Regions from separate parts of the Homo sapiens genome. Here region 1 is linked to region 2. The links are contacts of gene promoters, found by promoter capture Hi-C in human tissues and cell types (Jung and others, 2019). All regions are on one chromosome and are shown on one strand. Each heading gives the region's core, a stretch centred on a gene start or on the middle of the fragment in contact. The rest is flanking DNA. Distances are from core to core; before and after follow the strand shown.

Region 1 (3,987 bases), core at 1,361-3,860, 1.1 Mb after region 2:
CTCATCTAGAGGTTTTTTAATAGCTAACATTTCTAAGTTTTGTGATTCTCAGTCAGTATATGTAGACATTGCCGGTGAAAGTTTATTTCTCTTGTGTATTTAACCCTGAATAACCATCTTGCATCCCCATGAGGAAGGGGGAAGGGTCATACTATGTGTGTTTGAAGCCCTGTTCAACTTAAATCTTGATTTTACTGTAATAATCAGATGAGAAAGGAAGCCGAGAAAACTGCCTTGTCTACAATAGCAGTTGCTACTGCTAAAGCCAAAGAACAAGAAACAATACTGAGAACTAGAGAAACTATGGCTACTAGACAAGAACAAATCCAAGTTACCCATGGAAAGGTGACTATTGTTGTTCCAAGTGTGAAATCCCCTATTATAATACATTAATACCACATATCATGTGAAATTCCTTATTGTAATACATTAATATCAAGTCTCTGAATTTCTTATGTATGAGTCACTATTAACCAAATTTATTTTTTAGACAATTAAATAATTGGAAACTAAAAAAATTTATTATTGTTAATATTACTACATATCCCTTTCTCCACTTATCTCTTCACCATTATTGTCAACATTTTATTAACATCTGGGAATCTTCCAGAAGTTGATTAAAATTGCATGCAGGCTAATTTTAAGAGGCCCATGAACATTTTTTAAAAACACGGAAGATGTATAAGTAAATGATGACTCTTACTCACTGTCAAGAAGATGTGTGTTTTGAAGGGTCATAAATTCAGTATATTATGTTATGGAGTATGACTTATTTCAGTAAATTACCCATAATTTTCTTTGTATGAAACTTTATCTTTTTTCCCTCCTGTAAATATCAGAGGAGAAGATAAGCTGAAAAAATTATAATGCATGCTGTAGCAGCTCCCACTAAAGCTAAACAAGATGCATATTAAAATCTAGAGAAGGAAGTATCCAAACAGAACAATTACACATAAGCCATGAAAAGATTACCGTATCTATTTGTAGCTATGAAATATCCATGAATTAAACTGTTTCCCATGACTCTGTCATTTACTCCAAATGAGCCATTTACCTAATTGTATTCTTTATTGCTAATATACCACTTGAAAATTAGCAACTAAAGTTTTTCCATTTCATTAGCAGGATGGCCTGAATCCTATTTGTATTTCCCTCAGTGTCATTTTCTGACTCTACATCTTTTTTTTCTAAGATATGATTTAAGATAAACTTTTTAAACCTTTACTCAAATCTAACATTTAATGGCATATCAGCCTTTCAGAAGTCTCATAAATGACAGAAATTCCACTATGCAACATACTTCATGAGTGATTAACTTTTTACTTTTGTTTCCATTCAAATTTTGTCATGAATTGACTATCTTGTTTTTGTTAAAAATTAGCTAAGGATGGAAGCTGAGAAAATGTTTATACCTGAAGTAGTAGTTACCACTGCAAAATCTGCTGAACCAGCCACACCGCCAATGACTAGAGAAGGATTCACTATTAAACAAAAACAAATACATCTTTTTCGAGAAGAGATGAAAACTGATGCTATGGAGGTGAAAAGTATTGTTTCATCCCATTTCATCATCAACTCTCATAACTTTTCATCCGTCGTGAATTGTGCTTCTAGTGTTCCATCTAATTGTTTAACTGATCAATAAAACAATAGAGATGGTTAGATTCAGTCCATCCTCCAGTTGAACAGTGAGCATTTCTAGTAGTGAAAAGTCAGACCAAATAATACTCTTCTTTATGTCTCCTAAATTTATTCTCAGCATTTAACTCGTATGAATTGGAGTATTCTAGTCCAATTTGTCTTCCTGCTTCTCTAGGTTACAAACATGTGAGAGATATCAAAGTCCACTAAGAAATAAAAGCGGTTACCAGCATACTCATTTGTAGTCCACCAATAAGTGTGTGTATATAAATCTGATATACAATAATTCAAGGAAAAAACAGACAGATGCTTCCTCAATTTAAAATATTTTACCATGATTAAGATTTTTCCATATGTTTAAAATCAAGAACAAAATTTAAATATTTCAGTTGTGTGATATTTAGTCATATGACAGTTTCTTTGACAGTTTCTTTTATCATTGTTAAAATAAAATTAAGACTTAAGCTGACTACTTCATAGCAGACTGGCTAAAAGGTTCAAATGAGATATAGTGGAAATGTGATCACACTACAATCAAAATAATATTTATTTATTTAGTGTTATCTGTCGAAGATGTTAACATTTTAAAATGTCTATACAATTAAAGTCAGCTCATTGCCAATATAGTTTTTAAAAAAGAAAAAAATAAATGGACAAACTTAACTCACCTAAGCCTCATGTGTATTTTATGTTTTTTTCTGAGATGATGCAATCTAAAGTGAAGATGGTATTTGCAGTCCTTCGAGGCAGATGAAATTGTTTGTGTCTTCCTAAAAGGAAGCCCTGGATAAAGCCCATGATCACTAAAGACCCAATTCCATCTCAGAAAAATCTCATTTATATCTTGAATGGTTCAGAGAATAATTTTTAAAGATATGCAGGTAGCATAGTTGAAGAATGTTTCTGATGCATTCTAGATTCTATTCACAGGTATAGAAAACTGAATATTAATAAAATTTTCCAATCTTACTTTTAAAATGCACTTTTAAAATGTACTTTTAAAATGAACATGGCTATGTGATTTTTGAGGTATGCTGTTTCCAAGTATCACATAGAATCATAATATCTAAGCCACATCAGCTAGTTTGCCTTCTTTAAAAGAGAACCTCCTCTGCAAATTGTATTTCCATTAATGTTCATCAGACTCAGAAACGAGAAAATAATATTTGTTTCATTCTTTGCTTTAACTCTCCATAATAATGAAAGTAAATTAAACTTCAATGTGAAAGGTTGTTCTCTTGAATCCAAACATGATAACACTTTCATTTTAATCACAATATTTTTATTTGCACGGGGTTCTCTTTGTCATCTGTGTGTTTTAAGAAAGGTATTTTCTGATAGATTAAACAATCTTACCCTTAGGGAATCATAAGTAAATTCATATGCTCACTCTGTGTTTGTGAGCTTTCATGTTATGTCCGATTTGCATGCAACCATATAACTCTGTAGTCACTGATTTTTCTGGACAGGATGATGACGGTATTTGAGTGCACTTATATCATCACTGTCACTGCATTAATACCAGACTAAATGGTCAACAAGATAATAAAAATAATCAGTGAAAAGAACCAGCTCCAAAATTCTGATTTTCCAATTGCTGATTGATTGTCTGCCTGGAAAAATTCTAGAAAATTTCAAAATCTTCTTGTGATTTTATGTTCATATTGTGATTGTCCTATGTTGTGTATATGTGATTTAATGTCTAGTATAATTAAGTAGGTGTACAGAGAGTATATCTAAATAGATGTCTGTACAATATAATAATCAATGAAATAGTCCCTAAAAGTGTTTCTGAGATACATTTCTAGACACGTTAACACTGCTGTATAATGTGGACGCCATCTGCCTGTCCTGATGCCCAGGAGATATTCCAGCCTGATCTCGATATTCCTATGTATTAATTCTGGAAACCTTGTCTCCAGGTGGACGTTGGAAAAAAGGCTGAAGCTGTAGCAACAGTTGTTGCTGCAGTAGACCAGGCCCGAGTCAGAGAGCCCAGAGAGCCTGGGCATCTTGAAGAATCCTATGCTCAGCAGACCACTTTGGAGTACGGATATAAGGAACGCATTTCCGCCGCAAAGGTAGCTGAGCCTCCCCAACGTCCAGCCTCAGAACCCCACGTTGTCCCTAAAGCAGTCAAGCCTAGAGTAATCCAGGCTCCTTCTGAGACTCATATCAAAACTACTGATCAAAAGGGAATGCACATATCATCACAGGTGAGTCTATACCTGCTGATTTTTCACCTTGTTCATGGTAAAGCAAGCCTCACTGCTGTGGTCATCTGGTGATCAATGGTATCACTGAGTTTCATTTCAATGCAGATCAAGAAAACTACAGATCTAACAA
Region 2 (3,906 bases), core at 937-3,436:
TAAACACAAAAGTAGAAAAAAAACCTTAAATTAATCCCTTTCTGTTATGTTCCTCCTTGATATTTGGGCTCTTTCCTTGATGAACTACCCTTCCAGTGTTGCTGCTATCCTGACCACTTTCCTAACGCCCCGAACCTAGGGCTATAGTTCTCTGAGTCGGTTTACTCCATTACTGCCAGGAGTGAGCCAGAATGTTTCCAGGAAAATGGTGCTTGGAGGCTTTGAGGACAGGAGAATCCCCTATGTCAGATAACACTGTAAAGGCATGTTCAATGACAAATTATACAATAGAAACACATTTGCATCAGAAAATCGAGACAGAAGCTGTTTTTTCTCTATATATTTAAATATTGTGTTTTTAAATTTAATGTTGTTTCCATATTGAAGTGCGTTTACAAAGGAGGCACTGCAATTGTTTTGTGCTTGGGGCTCCAGAGGCCTTAATCCTGCCTTGGCTAAGGACGTGAAGGGCAGGATTCTTAGTCAGTTATGTCACAGGTGAATAATTGGGAGTTGTCTGCATGTATTTTATGCTTCTTTCAGCTGTTAGGAAATGCAACCCTCAAATTATTCTCTGCCGTGAGTCTTAGCTATAGGTGATTAAAAATAGACAGGGAGGAGGGAAGGATATAGTTGCAGTTTGCAGGACATAAAAAATGCACATGCTGCTAAACTGTGCAAGCCACGGAGAACACTTCTCACAGGTGTTCCACTCTGCAGAGGTTACTCATTTGCCTCCAAGTGCAATCCAAGGTGTTGACTGGAGACTTTAAGGGGCCCTCACCCCTTTCTCTGCATCTTAGATTCCTGGAGATATCAATACTTACCTGAGCTCAGAGGCAACCTCGACAACCACGCTGTCCCAACTCTGAAGTGCATGGCACTGGAAGCTGGGTGTTTTTCTCATGGAAGGTTTTTGCCTCTGGAATTTCCTGCTTGTCCCAGTCTGCCAGAGCTCCATCTTACTGACCTTCAGGGACTTGTGAAAGACGTGTTTTCAACATAACCTTTATTGATGACAAGAGACCTTAAGATCATAATTTTGTGAAAGATAATTTAAGCAATTATCATAGCTCATGTTCTTTTGGGTTAAAATGATTGAATTTTGGTGCTGTCCTTCTGTAGCAACTTCAAATAAGGTACAGTTTTAAGAATAAGCACACCAATAAACGTTTGTTCTTAGTATTGAGACTGCCGACCTGGATGTGAAGATATTTGGATTCTAAAAATACAAAAACTGTAAGTCAGATTTATGCCCTTTCTCACGCTGGTACCTCAAATGTGCTGGTGCTTGCAATAACTCTACATTCCAAGGTGCTTAAAAACACAGCCTGCTCCCTTAGAAAGCTCTAGGATGGTGTGATTGTTTGTCACATCTGAAGCCCACCCTGGGAGAACAACATTGGCTTTGGCTGGACGTTAAGATATTTATTCTAGACGATTATGCCAAGACATTAACAGCTGCAGGATTATTTACGTAGTGTCAATCATCTGAGACAAGAACCAAAGAAAAATATTTTAAGATCATCTGGTTAAAAAAAAATCCCTGCTATATAACACAACTCTCTTGTCATTTATGACTATTGAACTTCTCCCCAAAGAAGTAATCTCAGAAAACTGCTCTTTTAAAATTATTTTCCCTTTCTTAAGTGTTCTAAGTGCTTTCCCTTTCAGAACCAAGCACCTTGGCCATGTTTGCACTAATTTTCAGAAGATGCCCTCTACATCAGGGTAACCGATGACAGGTTTTAGTTTTGAAAACTTAAACACGGAAAAGAAATCCGGCGAAAATGAGCCCCCCGCCCACAACCCTTTCAGATCTGCTGCGAGGCTGCGATGCCTTCTTGCGCTCCGGGCCTTCCCGGCTCCGCCAAATATGCCGAAGCTGCTAGCTGTGCTCTGCTAGCCCAGGGGTGGTCAAAGAGGAAAAACAAATAGTTGGTCTGACGATCTCCAAGAAGAGAGTTTCACTCTGGGTTGACTAATATTGGAAGCATCCGCCCCATCGCGGGGCTTGGCATCTAGGCTTTGGGACCTCTGCCATTGCCAAGGATCTCTTCGGGGACCCGAGCCCCCGGGCTGAGGACCGCGGGGGACCCCAGGTCGGGACGGAGCCTCCTCTGGCTCGCTGTGCGCGCACGCCTGGAAAGGCGGGATTTAAGGCAGCGATGCTGCGGGAGGCTCTGCAGTGTCAACGAGCCCCCGAACGGTTCCGCCTCATTCCCTCTCTGTGTGCCTCGCAAGTCTCTGCTTAGTAAACCGTCACAGCTTCGGCGCGCGAGAGTGGCGTTGGCACGTCCAAACCCCGGGGTCCTCGGCCAGGCCAGGGGGGCGGGCGTGCGGCGGGGCCGGGCCGGGCCGGGCGCGCCCAGCGGGCTCCGGGCACACGCCCCTCACCTGGGCGAGGCCCGGTGCGCAGGCGCTCAGCGCGGGGGCAGCGGCCGGGCGCTTAAGCCCGGCGCGGGCAAGAGTTGGACAGTTCAGGGGCCGCGCCGGGCCGAGCTGTCGCCCGCGCCACCTCCACCGCCGCCGCTGCTACCGCCACCGCCACCGCCTGGGCTGCAGCAGATCGCGGGAGAACGTCTGCGCGAAGCCCCGGTGCAGCCCTGGCGGGACCGCAGCAACCACCGGAGCGTGAGCAACAGCTTCCCGGCTGGAGGAGCCACTGCCCCACGCGCCCGCGGCCCGCGCGCCGAGGTAAGCTCTGGGCGCCCAGCCCAGACCGGCGCCCCCGGACTGGGCGCCCTCTGCTTGCCCGGCCCCCGCCCTCCTCCGCAGAGCGAGCCTGCACCTGGGCGCGCCGCCCGAGGGAATGGCCAGGAGCCCCCCTCCCGGTAGAGTTTGCACTTTGTCTCAAGGTCCCACTTGTAGAGGAGGGCGCCCAGGCGCCTGTGGCTTCCACGACCTAATCCTAACTCCTGCGAGTCCCTGGAGTTAGGATTAGGTCGTGGAAGCCACAGGAGCATACTCCTCTGTTCCCCAGGGTAGGCTCCAATTCCCAAGGACGGATGGAGAGGGGAAAGGACGAGGAGAGTGCCCCGCTATGTTTAGCCGCAGCGCCTCGTCACCTGGGCTGGAAGTTTGGGGTTTGTCTTTCTCTCAATGACCGGGAAATGGGTAGTTAGGGGACCGAGGTGTGTGAGGAGGGTAGCGGTCGAAGCTTGGGGTCGTGGGAGAGTTCTGCAGCAGAACCCAGATGAGATGGGGGCAGAGGAGCAGAGAGAAGGTCCCCGAAGTTTGCACTTGTTGGGAGCCCTGACGGGCGGCCTCGGCCACTAAGCGCTGGTGAAGGTGTCAGGGAAGGGTGGGAGGACACTGTGGGACTGCGGAAGGGACGAGGAGAAGGGGAGGGGGAGGACCATCTGTTTCGCCACTGTTATGTGCGGGGGCCTGTGGGGAGAAGGGAGAGCTGGCAGGACGATGCTTCCCTAGACTCTGGAGGACACACAGTTTTTATGGTGAACCTGGATAGGGAGTGCTGTTCTTCAGGGGAAATAAATTGCCAAGAAGTATCCCCCCTCTCCCCACGCCCATGAATACAAAATAACGCAGTTTTGGAATGCTCTCAAAAGTTCTTGGGTTGGGAAACGTCTTCTTTCATTTTCATACAGAGATGAGGTTTGCATTTCCTTTTGGTTTTGCTTTGCTGAGGAATATCACACCAAGGGGAATGCAAACTTTGTCAAGATGTAGTAGCAAAAGATGTTCCTATAGAAGGAACAAAACATTTCTGTTATAGGGCCTAGCCTAAAGCGTGGAAACTGGCAGCGTCCACACAATTCATGAAACGGTAGGAAATGCATTTATCTAATTAAAAAGAGGGCTTTTCATAAAGTCAATAAGCTACATCTTAGGTAAGTTAAAGGCTTTGGCTTGAAAGAACTCCCTTAAATGTTCCAAGGCCAA

Evidence for each region. Contacts are between HindIII fragments. The study calls those that stand out against the background at their distance.
Region 1: a contact is called between a fragment that was not itself captured here and the fragment with the promoter of ZNF385B in region 2, in 1 of the 25 tissues and cell types used here (dorsolateral prefrontal cortex).

Annotation. Positions count from the first base shown.
Region 1 is chr2:178,785,718-178,789,704 of GRCh38, reverse strand. TTN (titin) reads left to right here. Exons shown (of 363, transcript NM_001267550.2): 13 at 208-345; 14 at 3,564-3,857; 15 at 3,963-3,987. Among named protein-coding and RNA genes, the nearest start is that of TTN, 20 kb to the left of the region's middle. The HindIII fragment of the contact is 6,263 bases long and covers 1-3,987 here.
Region 2 is chr2:179,859,892-179,863,797 of GRCh38, reverse strand. ZNF385B (zinc finger protein 385B) reads left to right here and starts at 2,186. Exons shown (of 10, transcript NM_152520.6): 1 at 2,186-2,697. It overlaps MIR1258 (microRNA 1258), which reads left to right and starts at 2,890; the gene lies at 2,890-2,962. The HindIII fragment of the contact is 6,066 bases long and covers 1-3,666 here.